Linked DNA regions of Homo sapiens: regions 1, 2, 4 and 5 are each linked to region 3. Evidence: promoter capture Hi-C in 16 types of primary human blood cells and fetal thymus (Javierre and others, 2016). All regions are on one chromosome and are shown on one strand. The core of a region is centred on a gene start or on the middle of the fragment in contact, and the rest is flanking DNA. Distances in the headings are between cores, read along the strand shown. Region 1 has its middle 320 kb from the start of TFAP2A-AS2. Region 2 has its middle 380 kb from the start of TFAP2A-AS2. Region 3 holds the start of TFAP2A-AS1 (TFAP2A antisense RNA 1). Region 4 overlaps LOC105374919 (a long non-coding RNA gene). Region 5 has its middle 340 kb from the start of TFAP2A-AS2.

Region 1 (2,700 bases), core at 67-2,566, 330 kb before region 3:
ACTGCTGTGTGTGCATGCATGTGTTAATATATTTATGCACGCGTGCGCATGTGTGCATTTTCTCACTAGTAGTGTAACCTAGTATTTATTTCCAATTCCCACGATCCACTGAAAGCAACAGTGGTTTTAGTTCCATGAAGGAACAAATTGGTTCCTGCAGGAGCAGACACTGGTTTCCTACTGGCAAAATCTGAGGGCACCACCAAGCTGATTTGGCAAAATGAACTCCGAACCAGTCTATTCGTCACAGTGAGGGGCAGTTACCAACCAGAATGGCTCACTGGTGTCTAATAAAGACAGGAAGTGGTCTTTTGGCAAGTGGTCATTCTCTCCATCTTGGAGCATATTTCCTCTTGTGACTGGTAGGTATCAGCTATCAGGCAGCCTAATTTACCTGAAAAATGTTGTTAGGCATAGGATGAATTCAGGTTCATGGTGTAACAGTTTAAACAGAAGTAGTGCAGGTATTTCAAGAGGAAGTTTATTTTCTCCTTGAATGTGTATTTTACTCATTGGCAGGGCCACAAGGCTACTAAACATTCCTAATCCATATCACTGCTGCATTTTAGGCAAAACAAGCAAGTACACCTCATTATTTTGTACTGACTGGGTGTCTGTGAACCTCCGTAAGCAGAGCTGTGGTTCTTGTTCCCCATTTTTCCTGTACTCCTTTGGGCTGAACGATTTGTGGGCCCACAAACTACAATAAACTAGAGACATTTTGAACAAGAAATGTATTTGCCTCCTGCAAATACTACCTGATTGAGAAAGTGTGTGAGCATGTGTGTTAACATAAATATGATAAGAAGAACAAGAAGTTTAGTCTGCATGAATAAAGTGGCACTTTTTCTTGATGCCTTGATGTTTTATTTTAAAACTCACCATGTAAGGCAGGAAAATGTCTAAATTTATATTCCATAAAATCTGAGTTCAGCTACTGCGTCTACTTTAATGTGATGTCTTTAGGACATGAACCCATTATGATAATAATCTGATTGGTAAAGAGAGGTCATTAGATATCTTTCTCCAAAGAGATAGCTGCCAGAAAGAAATAGCGATTAGAGGTGTAAAAAAGATTTCTTTAATGTTTCCTGTTTTGCCATTTTATCTGTAGTAAAAAATTTATTCTTCCATGCTCAATAAATTCTGAAGAGTGCTTTGAGTTCAGGGGATAGTAGACTTCTTTACATGCACAATAACTGTTGAATACTGGTTATGAATGGGCTTCCTAACTACACTTTTGATGTATGCATATTGTTTTGATAAATGAAAATACAAATGCACTGAGGAAAAGATAGATCAGATTTTTGTTTCAGAAGGAAACTCAGTGATTCTTACCTCTTCACAAGAAAATGTATTTGATATATCTTTTGCTAGAATATTTTGTAAGCTAGAGGTTTTTTAAAATTTTCTTTCTGAAGTTTTATTAATGCTATTTTTATGGGGAAAAAATTATAACAACCACATAGTTATAGAAATTAGGCCAGGCACGGCGGCTTCTGCCTGTAATCCCAGCACTTTGGGAGGCCGAGGCAGGCAGATCACCTGAGGTCAGGAGGTCAAGACTAGCCTACCCAATATGGCAAAACCTTGTCTCTACTAAAAAAAAAATACAAAAAATTAGCCGAGTGTGGTGGTGGCTGCCTGTAATCCCAGCTACTCAGGAGGCTGAGGCAGGAGAATTGCTTGAACCCAGGAGGCAGAGGTTTCAACGAGCCAAGATCGCACCACTGCACTTCAGCCTGGGCGACAGGAGTGAAACTTCATCTCAAAAAAAAAAAAAAAAAAATTAAACACATTACAAGAGGGGTTGCTTCTTTTGGGGAATTATAGTGCCAGAACTGAAAAATGATTGTGCAATCAGTACACAGCTATATCCCCTTGTTATAGCTGTAGCATAGCTGTAGCAGCTCTGGATCTGGGAGCCACTATATCAAGGCGGCTACTGAGAGGAGCCCATTTCAGCTCTCTGAGCCCCAAGACTCTCCTGGGCATCATTTGAAATCTTTTTGGAGGCAGCCACACTCCCATGGCCCATGCACTCTGCAAACCAGTGAAGATGTGAAGATGGCACCATGCAAATGCCACCAAGATTTACTGCCTGTGCTCTCTGGAGGAGTAGCCACCACTGTACCACGGCTTGCTCGAACCAAACCTAGGGCAGCCGAGGACTACTGCTGACAAGTAGGGAGCAGAGCTTTAAGGTGGCGCTGGGCAGAGAGCCCTGAGATCCCACAGGCACCCTGGTCCTCTCCTTTGAAACGGTCCTGTCCTTGAGGCCCTGGCACTCTGGACTTGTGATGGGAGTGGCAGCCCCACAGATCTTTAAAATGCCTTAAGAGTCACTCTTCTATTGTCTTGATGAATAGCATGTGGCTGGTACATACTAATCTCCTTACTCACACCTTTGGTGTGCTCTCCCGAACATGCTTTCTCATTTGTTACAATATCGGCAGGCTGAGAATTTTCTGCATCTTTAACTTCTGCTTCCCTTTTGATGATAAATTCTGTCTTTGAATCTTTTCTGTCTCCTCGCATTTCCTATAAGCAGTCAAGAGAAGCCGTGCAGCACCCACAGCACTGTGCTTAGAGGATTCTTCTCCCAAATATTCAATTTCACCATCCACGAGCACTACCGTCCACTGAACACTAGGATACCAACACAGTTCAGCCAAGCTCTTTGCCACTTTGTAACAGAGA
Region 2 (2,700 bases), core at 187-2,686, 390 kb before region 3:
CCTTACTTCCAGACAATTAGCCGGGCATGGTGGCAGGTGCCTGTAATCCCAGCTACTTGAGAAGCTGAGGCAGGAGAATCGCTTCAACCCTGGAGGTGGAGGTTGCAGTGAGCCTAGATCACGCCAATGCACTCCAGCCTGGGCAACAAGAGTGAATCTCCATCTCAAACAAAACAAAACAAAACGAAAAACCACAAAAACTTGTCTATGAAATACCAAACCCATGTTTCTATCTTCCTCTAGAAAATTTCCACTTAAATTTCCTATAAGCAGCACAGAATCTTTCTCACTCACCTTTTTTTTTTTTTCTTTCTAGCAGTCAGGCCCCTCAGCTGCAGGTCTTCTGGAGTTTGCTGGAGGTCCACTCCAGACGCTGTTTGCCTGGATATCACCAGCGGAGGCCGCAGAACAGCAAATTTTGCTGCCTAATCCTTCCTCTGGAATCTTCCTCCCAGAGGTGCACCTGCCTGTATGAGGCATCTGTCGGTCCCTACTGGGAGGTGTTTTCCAGTCAGGCTACAAAGGGGTCAGGGACCCACTTGCAGAGGCAATCTGTCCGTTCTCAGAGCTTGAATGCCATTCTGGGAGAATGACTGCTCTCTTCAGAGCTGTCAGACAGGGACATTTAAGTCTGCAGAAGTTGTCTGCTGCCTTTTGTTCAGCTATGCCCTGCCCACCTTTTTTTCTTTTCTTTTTTTGAGATGGAGTCTCACTCTGTTGCCTGGGCTGGAGTGCAGTGGCACTATCTCAGCTCACTACAACCTCTGCCTCCCAGATGCAGGCAATTCTCCCACCTCAGCCTCCCAAGTAGCTGGGATTACACACCTGCGCCAACACACCTGGCTAATTTTGTATTTTTAGAAGAGAAGGGATTTCACCATGTTGATCAGGCTGACCTCGAACTCCTGATCTCAAGTGATCCATCCGCCTCAGCCTCCCAAACTTCTCACTCATCTTTAATCAAACACCAATTCCTACCACTTTGACATCCTAACTCTCTATCAAACCCTCTCCCTTTTTCCTCGCCTTGGTCAATGACCTGTGTCATTTTCCCCATCCCCTTCATGCTGTCTGGCCTGGAATGCTCACCATCAGAACCAAGCCTACTTGTTCTCTGGTCTCAGTGTAATGTCACTTCCTCTGGTACATACTCCAAAACCCCACCCACAAGTCTGGGTTCTATACAAAGGTACTCTCGTATCATCCCAAGCTAATCGTATCATACAACTTTTATAAAAACCTGTTTATTTGTCTAGAGCCTTTAGCTGCAGTTTCCTTGAGAAAAGGAACTGTGTACTTGCTGTTCTTCCCGTTCACTATTCTATGTCCAAGCCTAGCAGAGTTCCTCGAATATACAGGTATTCATAAACGCTCACCAAATTAACTTCACTCTACTGGGATGTGCTCATTATCTTCCCACCAGATATATGTTCTTCCTTTAACTTCCTTCTATTTTGGTTAATATACTCAGCTGTCCAATCATAAACAACGCTTTTTAAAAATTTCTATTTTTCTCCCATTTAGTAGTTGGCTAGACCTTTGTACCAGGCAGGAAAATGGATTGTTAAATTCTCATGAAATATATTAGCCGGGCATGGTAGCACGGACCTGCAGTCCCAGCTACTTCGGAGGCTGAGGTGGGAGGACCACTTGAGCTCAGCAGGTGGAGGTTGCAGTGAGCTGAGATCATATCACTGCACTCCAGCCTCGGTGACAGGGAGAGACTGTATCTCAAAGAAAAAGAGAAAAATTAAATTACACAAACTTAAAATTAAATAAATTAGATTAAAAAGGCATTAAATGGTTAAAACTCATCACCTCCTAATTATTTTACTCCAGTTTACTATTACCTATGCGCTTGAGATCATCCTGCCCCATTGTGTCTGGTGGAAATACTATATAATGGCATGCGGCTGTGTGTTCAGTAGCGACAGTGTGTCTGTAGCTTGAAATCGAACATGGTGACAATGTTTACACCATAAAAAATCAACAAATGCTACAAACCTGCAATTTACCTTTTCTTTTGGAGAACCTGTTGTAAAGCATTTAGACCAGCACTCTCCCACCCTCACTGATTGTGATACCTGGCCTGGCCTCGTGGCCCCTGGTTACACAGTGGGCCCACCACCTCTGCCTTCCCCTCAAATTAATTCTCCACACTTCTGCAGAAACACTTTTCCTACAACATAAATATGATCAGGTCACTCCTCTACTTAAAAACTTACACTCCTGCTCAGCATCTACATAGCCAAGACCTCACTCCCTACTATGGTTTCTAAGGCCCTTCAACAGCCCAGCCCTGCCTCTCAAGCCTCCTTCCCACCACGCCCTTGACCATTCAAGGCTCTGGCTATGTTGTACCTCCTGCAGCTGTGACTCTTTAACCTCTTCTCATGCTGTTCCTGCTGCCTAGGCTGCACTCAACTACCTTGTGTGTTTGGCAAACTTCTGGACGTCATTTGAGTTTCAGTTCAAATACCTAATCCTTGCTAAAGTGTTGCCTGACTTCTTGTCACTGAAGAGTTCCTCTCCTGTGCCCTCACCATCATCATCCTCACACAGCAATCACAGTGCTTATAATGTTCCTGTATTTTGGGGTTTTCCTGTGTCTCCTCCACCTCACTGAGTCCTTCAAGGGCAGAGACAGTGTGCCTGTCATCAGGCATGTCATATGCTGAGTGTTATTGAAGTATTGGCTGA
Region 3 (2,700 bases), core at 178-2,677:
GGGTCTGTCTTTTTCGCTTCCTCTGTTAGGAGCCTTTTTCTCGACAGAGTCGATTTATGGTTTGGATAGGGAAAGGGGGACGTCAAGTCAAGGTTTAAAATAGAAAGATTCAGCCTTATTGGGTTTAAAAGAGAGAGGTGCACCCCGGGGCTGTGGCCCCCCCCCCCCGCCCCTTCCACCCCAGCCCCAAAGGGCAGAAGAAACGCCTGACTTTAGGTTTCTCTATTGCAATTCCCTTGCAAAACAAGCGAAGAGAGTTGATTCCAGAGACCGCGAACCCTCGGCGGTTCGGCCGCAGGTCCCGAGGGTAGGGGGCACACCGCGCTGCACTTTTCCTGCAGACAGTTTAAGCATCAAATGTTGAGAACATCTCGGGGACAAGTGAAGACTCAAGGAAATCAAGATGAACGTGGGGAGAAACACGCCTTGGGAAGCCGCGGCGAGGTAGGTCTGCGTGCTCGGAGAGGTCGAGCGGGGGCTGGGGTAGGGGGTAATGCACTCGATTTAGGGATGGAAAAGAGCGAGAGAAAGGCGGAAGGTGGGGTGGGGGATGCAAATGGAGAGGGTGTCCTGAAGGAAAGCTGGGCGTGAAACCCGAGGTTTCGGGCAGCTCCACGGCACCAGGTTTCCAGAATCCAATTCCTAAAGAAACAGCAACGGGGGTGGGGATGGGACTCACCATGGCTGAAAAACTGTGAACTAACATCTGCGAAGAGTCTGGGGTAACGAGTCAGGGTGGAAAAAAACAAGCAAGCCTGGAGCGCCCGGCTGCCCCGCCGCCCGAGCGCGCCCCACACAAAAGGCGCCGAGAGCCCCGCGCCACCCAGGACTCCAGTCACGGCGCCGACGCTCCCCGGAGCGCGGGAGCCCGGCTCGGATCCATCCGAACTTGAACCACCGATTCGCGCGGCGCCTTCAGCTGGTCGAACCCACGGTCTCTATCCTGCCGCGACTGGTTATGATTCAAAGTTCTTTAAAAATGAAAAACCCCAAAAAAGGAAAAAGGAAAAAGTATGTGTGAGTGTGTGGGTGCGTGCGTGTTCCTTAATCCGTGTCTCCCCCTCTTTTCTTAGCGGCGGCTTCGCTTGAGCTTCTAATAACCGCGCTGGGCAGCGTTCCTGGAGCCTCCTAATAGCAGATATTCATGACTATTAATATTACACGAATACTTAATAAGGGAAGAATGCCTGGAAATCGAGCGTGAAGCGGAGAGGCAACTCGCGCCGGAGCCGGCTCTCAATGCAGTCCATTGACGGGAGTCTCAGTGTAGCAAATCGGAGTGGGGAGAGGGAGCGCGAGAGACAAAAAGCGAGCGAGAGAGGGAGCGGGCGAGCGCGCGGGGGGCCGCGGCGCGGCGTCTGGCGAATCACAGGGAAGGGGCAACATTTTAAAAGGTTGCAGGGCATGCAAAAGTGAAAGAGAAAGAGGCAGAGAGGGAGACCGAAGGAGAGAGCGCAGAGAGGGAGAATGTGTCTGCGTGCGTGTGTGAGAAAGAAAGTGTGGGCGAGGGAGAGGAGCCCCGGGTGGGGAGAGGGGAGGGAGGGAAGGAGGGAGAGCCCGAGAGGAGGAAGGGAGGGAAAGAGGGAGGGAGGAAGGGAGGGAGGGAGGGGGAGGGGGCCCAGCCGGAGCGCACGGAGGGGGAGGCCGCGGGGGAGGGGGAAGGGGAGAGGAAGCGAGCGAGGACAATCAGACCTAAAAGGCTGGGGCAGACCTCGGGATGCAGCGGGGGTCGTGCGTAGCGGGTAGGAGCTGCTTGGGACCGCGTCCGGGCGCTCGTGGGGCTCTCGGCGCGGCAGGCGCTTCCCGGCCCTGTCTGGCCGCGGGCTCCGCCGCTTCGCAGCCGAGTCTGGGACTCGGGACTCGGCTGCCCGCTGCTGCGCGGCTCCTCCATGACCCGGCGCCCTGCCCGGGACCGGCCCGCTCGCTGCACTGGTCCTCTCCTCGGCCTCCTCTTGAGCTTTCCTCGGACAGGGGCACCGTGCGCTCCCCGGCCACCGTCGCTCTGCCCTCGGCTCTCTGGGGCCGGGGATTCCGGATCGGGAGCCGGGATGCGGGCCGGGGCGCGCACAGACGCTAGGCGGCCCAGCCCGGGCGCCGCTGGCACCGGCTCGCGGCTCCCGGCAAAAACCCGTCCGACTGGCTGGGCCACTCCCGCCTGACGCCCCCCCAGATGACACGACTAGCTCTCCCGGCGTGCTGCCTTTGCCAGTCTACCCGCCAGGTTGTCAGAACAAGCGGCACCTCGCCTCCTGCGTGTCCCTACAGAGCCCCGGCACAATCAGACTGCCCCAAGCCAGCTCCGAAACCCGAAATCCCCGCTCCGGCGCTTGCCCACCACGGCCAAAGTTGTGGAAACAGCTTTGACTTTATTCTCCTCTCTCTCTCATCTTTTTTTGCCTCGCTTACACACGCATTCACACTTGCCCCCACAGGATCCCTCTAGGGGTGCAAGTTCATCCCCCACCTAGCCACCCACCCCATCCAGTCGGCACCTAGAGCCGCACGGAGGTTCGGACCCCGCCCGCCGAGGGCGCCCACACCTGGAGCTGGGTTTCGGCCTCTGCGAAAGTGAAATGCCCAAGCCTCCGGCCAAAGCCCAGACCAGTACAGTATGAATTGTCCTATGAGACTGAGGGGTTCGGCTTCATTCCTACCTGCCCGCAAAGCTCGCCCCCAGCCTCGAAAACAAAGCGACTGGTC
Region 4 (2,700 bases), core at 200-2,699, 370 kb before region 3:
TTCTTATAACATCAATAAAAGGAAGGATGGACCATTGTAGACCTTGCCTTAGATAAAAGAAAGATTTGTTTGTCCTCAAACTCAGTTCGTAACCTACCGCAATGCTGATCCACCAAAATGGGCTCACAGGCCTTCGTGGAGTGATCGAATTGTCTGAACAATCCAGGAAAATTGATAAATGCAGATTGTTACCTGCCCCATGTCACCAGGATCTTCCACATCACTCTGGTTGTAGACACCAGGCTGGGTAGAGCTACCTGCTGGTAATGATTTCCAGTCACATAAAAGGGAGGCCAAATTGTAACAGGTGACACAAAGGGGAAAGATTCTGTATCACATTACTAATTCCCAAGAGCTAACCCAGGTCACTGGACTTTCCTCGTGTGAAGTTCGGGAATTTACAGACATTTTAAAATTAGCATTTCTCCTGGCCTAATTACTTGTCTTAACAGTCAGTCAAGTAATGTCTAATAAGCACTCCCTGGCTTGTGGTGACTCACTAAGCCTATAGGAGACTTAATCCAGAATGACAGGGTCCCCGCCTACCAGGCACTTACCATCTAATACAAAGACAACAGACTCACACATAAGGGGAGACATTCCATCCAGACACAAAAGTGAGGGTTTATTCTGTGTTGGCTGTGTTTGGGGTGCTTGGATTTTGTTGTCTACTTTAGGGGTGTGTGTGTGTGTGTGTGTGTGTGTGTGTGTGTGTGTGAGAGAGAGAATGCAAGATTCTTGAGATGCAAGATTACAAGCACTAAAACAGTTACGGAACTAGGGGACAAAACAGAGTTCGCTGATTATCAATTTAAGGCTTCACTATTAAGTTGAATGGATTATCCCCCTAGGTGCTACTGTGCATTATGGAGGTTTTACAAAGTGGAAGCTCCAAAAATCAGACTTAACATGGACTGACCCCATGTATATCCCCTCACACCCTTCTTCCCTGTGTGTTTTCTGCCCTCCTGCACCATGGCCCTTGTCCTGCAAGTATGTTTAATGTGCCCTAATATGTGAGTCCCGCTCCCTAAAGAGGCCATAGTCAGGATTTGGTGTTGCTTTTGGTAAGGCCGCCATGCTTGTTAGTTCATTTCTTCTCTCTCCTTGGCTAAATGGTAACTACTAGCAGTGGAGTCAGAAGACTCACTTATCTCTATGGGATATTTTATCTCTCTGCCTCCATTTTCTAATCCATAAAAATACAGATAATACTCATGAGTTTATTGTGACAATTTTAAAAATTAGCTCCCCTCTCAAACATTTTATACACTGTCAAACACTAATCACACATAAGGAATCATTAAGGTTTTTATATATGACCTTGATTTAGTTTCCAATCCAATGGTAATCACCATTTTAGACTCTTCAGAAATTATCTCAAGTTGGGACTATATGTTGAATATTCTCATGAATTAAACTACTGATTTCCAGAGATCTTTAAAATTGATATGCTAAAATAAAAATAAATTACATATTATCAAATGTGTATTAATAAAAGCCCCAGGAAGAGTCAACCTGTTAAATCAGAAAATGCATGAGCTTCTTTTAAATCATTTTTAATTATAGTTGAATAACACAATATGAACTTTACAACTTAACCATTTTGAAGCATACAGTTCTGTGCAAGTTCACAATGTTGAACACCTACCACCACCATCCAACTTTAGAATTATTTCATCCTCCAAAACTGAGCTTCTGTATGCATTAAACACTAACTCTCCATCCTTCTCTCTCCCCACCCCTTAGCAATCACCATTCTACTTTCTGTCTCTATGAATTTGGCTGCTCTGTGTGCCTTTAATAGAAGTGGAATTACAATATTTGTCCACTGTGACTGGCTTATTTCACTTAGCATAGTCCAAGGTTCATTATCCTATTCAAGTATCCATTTTGTAGCATGAAACACATGGGGTTTTGTGCCAGGTGATCCATAGCTTGTATTCCATCTCTACCACTTAACCAGCAAAGTGAAAAACTAAGTGGTTTAGTCAAAAATACTACGGTTATGAAAATAATTTGGCCAAAACAGTGAACTGAACTTGTAAGCATACACAAACACACATACACACACACACACACGCACACATACCACAAAATGCCAGAGTACCATACTTAATAAAACATACTGTTTGACTCTGTAGTATTAAGTAAAATAAAAGCCCCAGGAAGGGTCAATCTGTTAAATCAGAAAATGCATGAGCGTTTTAACTCTGTTAAACGCAGTTAGTCCTTTTTTGGCTGCATTTGAAGAACCACCTGTTTATTTTTTATTTCCACTGTTGTGTGATTCTTAACAAGAGGCTATCACAGTTTTTCAAGGGTTTAGTTCACTATTTTGGGAACATTTCTAAAATTCTGCTATACTTTTAAGTAATAAAAGAATGTTTCATATAATCAGAAACAAGATGCCCAGTTGGAAAAAAATTGATATTGACTTTTATGATAATAAAAGCATCACTGAACTTAGATTGTAAAAGAGGAATTAGAACTTGTCATGCCAAAACTATATGGCCTACATGAGAAACCTCTGGAACACATGAAAATAGATAACCTATGTTTCCTGATCATTTGATCTTCAAGTATAAGAGATTTTCATGCAGCAGAGATGCATGCAAAGTTTTGTAACTTTCATTAATTTTTAATCATTTTCTTTTTTCAGAAAATCTTTGCCCTCCCATACACAAACTCTCTCATTTT
Region 5 (2,700 bases), core at 8-2,507, 350 kb before region 3:
TGATCTGGAAGTTGAGCTTTAAAGGGTGAGTAGGAGTTAACCATAAATAGTTAACCAAGGGAGAGTCTGGGAGGAGAAGCAGGGGGAATCCCATGGGTGTGGACAAAGTATCTGTGGAAACCAAGTCCAACAGGAGCATAGAGTGTCCAAGAGAAAGTTCGTGTGGCTGGAGTACACACAGCTAACACAAAATGAATTTGGGGCCAGTAGGCAGGGCACACAGGACCTTGCATATTGTATTCAGGATTCTAGTCATTATCTTAGAACTGGGGAGTCATTGAAAGGTTTTGTGTGGGTGAATGTGTGTATGTGTGTGTGTGCTTGTGTGTACACTCTGACAACACAGGCTCTGGAGGAAGGATCATGCATGATCGTATTTATACTTCAACTCAGTCACTCTAGCTGGGATATGGAGAAGACATTAAAAATTGAAATGGAAATCAAGCTACCTATGGAGACTGGATAGAAAGCTAATGCCTTGATCTAGGGAAGAGGTGATGAAAAAATGGCCCAAGATAATTACCAGGAAGCAAGTCAGGAATGAAACTCTGTCCACTGTCCCTATGGGCCATCCATTCAGTTCTCAGCCAAAGATCCAGTTTGAGGGGGAAAAGATAGGTCCTGTTGATTTTGAGCTGCCTTTGAGAAAACCAAGTAGACATAAGAGTAGACAACTGGCTAATATAGTTTAGAGCCCCCAGGGTACACCAAGGCTAAAATTATTTGAGTTGTGAGGATGTTCTAAAGGAAATATAGGATTTTCCTATATGGAGACTAAGGGACATTCCAGAAAGAACACTTGTAATCACACTAAAACAAGAACACGTAGAGTCTGTTCTTTCATTAACCATGAATGCAAAGTATTTTCTTTTATAACACAATTTAATCAAGACTTTTAAAAAATTAAGCCCTAAAAGGCATTAATCCATTATTTCTGGATTATTTCTCTTTCCTTCATCTAATGGAATGGTAATTTTAGAGTAGACTCACGTAATACATGAAGTAACCTCATAATAAAGGGTGAATTCCTACATCCCATGAAATTTACAACTTCTCTTTTCTTATCATCACAACTTATCCAAAACTTTATAGAATTTAAAATCCCTTCTAAGCTTCTCAACTATTTCTACAATTTGTTAAAATATCTGGTAGATTTTTGCCTTTGATTTTTTTTCCTCAAACCCGTTGTCACCAAACACCATAATTTGGGCATCCATAATTCACTATTAATAACAAAAAACAAAATGTGCAAGTGAGTTAATTCTTTATGAAATTAGCTTATATGCAAATTATTCTTTTAATTAAGGTCAGTCTCATTGATTGCATTCAAATACACTTTCTGGAGAGGAAGAGAAATCTGTGGAATTGCAGTCAACGTGCAGGGATTTGCAGGGGGAAATAACAAAGCTTATCTGCATCACCAACCACAGGGTGTCAGATACGTTAATGTCATCTTTCACATGTGCTGCGTTCGAAGAAATTGAGAACTACTGCTCTAAACATCAAAATTTTGAAACCCCAAATAAAATATATGAACAATAATACATTCATTTTTCTTTTTATGCAAGTCAGAAGAAAAATATTGCAGATGCTTTATTTTATAAGTCATTCCAAATAGTGAAGTAATTATTTTTCAGATACAAAAGAATAAACTTAAAGCAGCATTTACTATATATGTATTATATATATATAATTTTTTTTCACTGGGAACAAACTAACAAGTACAGGTAGAATTACCTTCTGTAAATGCTTGCAAAACAAAGCAATTGAAACATTTAATTTTATGTGTTGTGACATGAAAGAGAATGCCATCAACACACATCTATTTAACTGAGCACACAGTGAAATTATACCCAAGAAACTGGCTACTGGTTTTAGTTTTTCATGTGGGAAAACCTAGAACACAGACTATGTCCTTAATACATTTATTATCATGAGATTATAAAAAACAGTAAGTACTGCAATGAATTATAAGACATATTTCTTATTCAACTTAAAAAGTTTCCCATAGGACTTTCACAGGATTTCCTTTTTGACATAAAGTTTATATTGGAAGTATAAACTCTTGAAAGGATAACATATATTTGTTTTGTTTTTTTGTTTTGGGGATGGGTTTTTTGTTTTTGTTTTTGCAGCAGGGCCTCACTCTGTCACCCAGGCCGGAATGCAGTGGCGCAATCTCAGCTCACTGCAACCTCTGCCTCCCGGGCTTAAGCAATCCTCCCACCTCAGCCTCCAGAGTTGCTGGGATTACAGACACATCTCACCACGCCTGGCTAATTTTTGTATTTTTTTGTAGAGATGGGGTTTCACCATGTTGCCCAGGCTGGTCTCAAACTCCTGAGCTCAAGTGATCTGCCCACCTCAGCCACCCAAAGTGCTGGGATTACAGGTGTGAGCCACTGTGCCCAGCCAAGATGGCATATATTTGGATGCAAAGACAGTAGATTCTAATGTCTTAAACAATGCCTGGAATGGTATTTCTTTATTTCAATATATATATTGTTCTGAAGTGATTAGGTTATAAAATTACTATTTGAGAAATTTTCTTCTGTTTAGAAACAAAAAAGTTTGCCATTCCTTCAGAATAGTTGCCATACGATTACCAATTTAATCAATTTTTGAGCACTCTCCACCTTTAGATTCTATTCTATATTCAGGCGATCCAGAGATTTAAAAATAAACAATTCCTGCTATCAA

What was found. Contacts are between HindIII fragments. The CHiCAGO score rates a contact against its expected background, and 5 or more counts as called.
Region 1: a fragment that was not itself captured here is called in contact with the fragment with the promoter of TFAP2A-AS1 in region 3 in 1 of 17 cell types (M0 macrophages); the score reaches 5.5 in M0 macrophages.
Region 2: a contact is called between a fragment that was not itself captured here and the fragment with the promoter of TFAP2A-AS1 in region 3, in 1 of 17 cell types (M2 macrophages). The highest score is 5.0, in M2 macrophages.
Region 4: a contact is called between a fragment that was not itself captured here and the fragment with the promoter of TFAP2A-AS1 in region 3, in 1 of 17 cell types (M2 macrophages). The highest score is 6.5, in M2 macrophages.
Region 5: a fragment that was not itself captured here is called in contact with the fragment with the promoter of TFAP2A-AS1 in region 3 in 1 of 17 cell types (M1 macrophages); the score reaches 6.0 in M1 macrophages.

What each region holds. Positions count from the first base shown.
Region 1 is chr6:10,078,898-10,081,597 of GRCh38, forward strand. It overlaps the pseudogene OFCC1. Among named protein-coding and RNA genes, the nearest start is that of TFAP2A-AS2, 320 kb to the right of the region's middle. The HindIII fragment of the contact is 3,027 bases long and covers 1-2,700 here.
Region 2 is chr6:10,020,869-10,023,568 of GRCh38, forward strand. It overlaps the pseudogene OFCC1. Among named protein-coding and RNA genes, the nearest start is that of TFAP2A-AS2, 380 kb to the right of the region's middle. The HindIII fragment of the contact is 8,032 bases long and covers 1-2,700 here.
Region 3 is chr6:10,410,891-10,413,590 of GRCh38, forward strand. It overlaps TFAP2A-AS1 (TFAP2A antisense RNA 1), which reads left to right and starts at 1,428. Exons shown (of 3, transcript NR_033910.1): 1 at 1,428-1,477. All of the region lies in intron 1 of TFAP2A (transcription factor AP-2 alpha), which reads right to left. RefSeq lists a silencer at 1,668-2,027. The HindIII fragment of the contact is 20,769 bases long and covers 1-2,700 here.
Region 4 is chr6:10,043,309-10,046,008 of GRCh38, forward strand. The region is part of intron 1 of LOC105374919 (a long non-coding RNA gene); the gene reads left to right. It also overlaps the pseudogene OFCC1. Among named protein-coding and RNA genes, the nearest start is that of TFAP2A-AS2, 360 kb to the right of the region's middle. The HindIII fragment of the contact is 3,914 bases long and covers 1-2,700 here.
Region 5 is chr6:10,062,770-10,065,469 of GRCh38, forward strand. It overlaps the pseudogene OFCC1. Among named protein-coding and RNA genes, the nearest start is that of TFAP2A-AS2, 340 kb to the right of the region's middle. The HindIII fragment of the contact is 295 bases long and covers 1,111-1,405 here.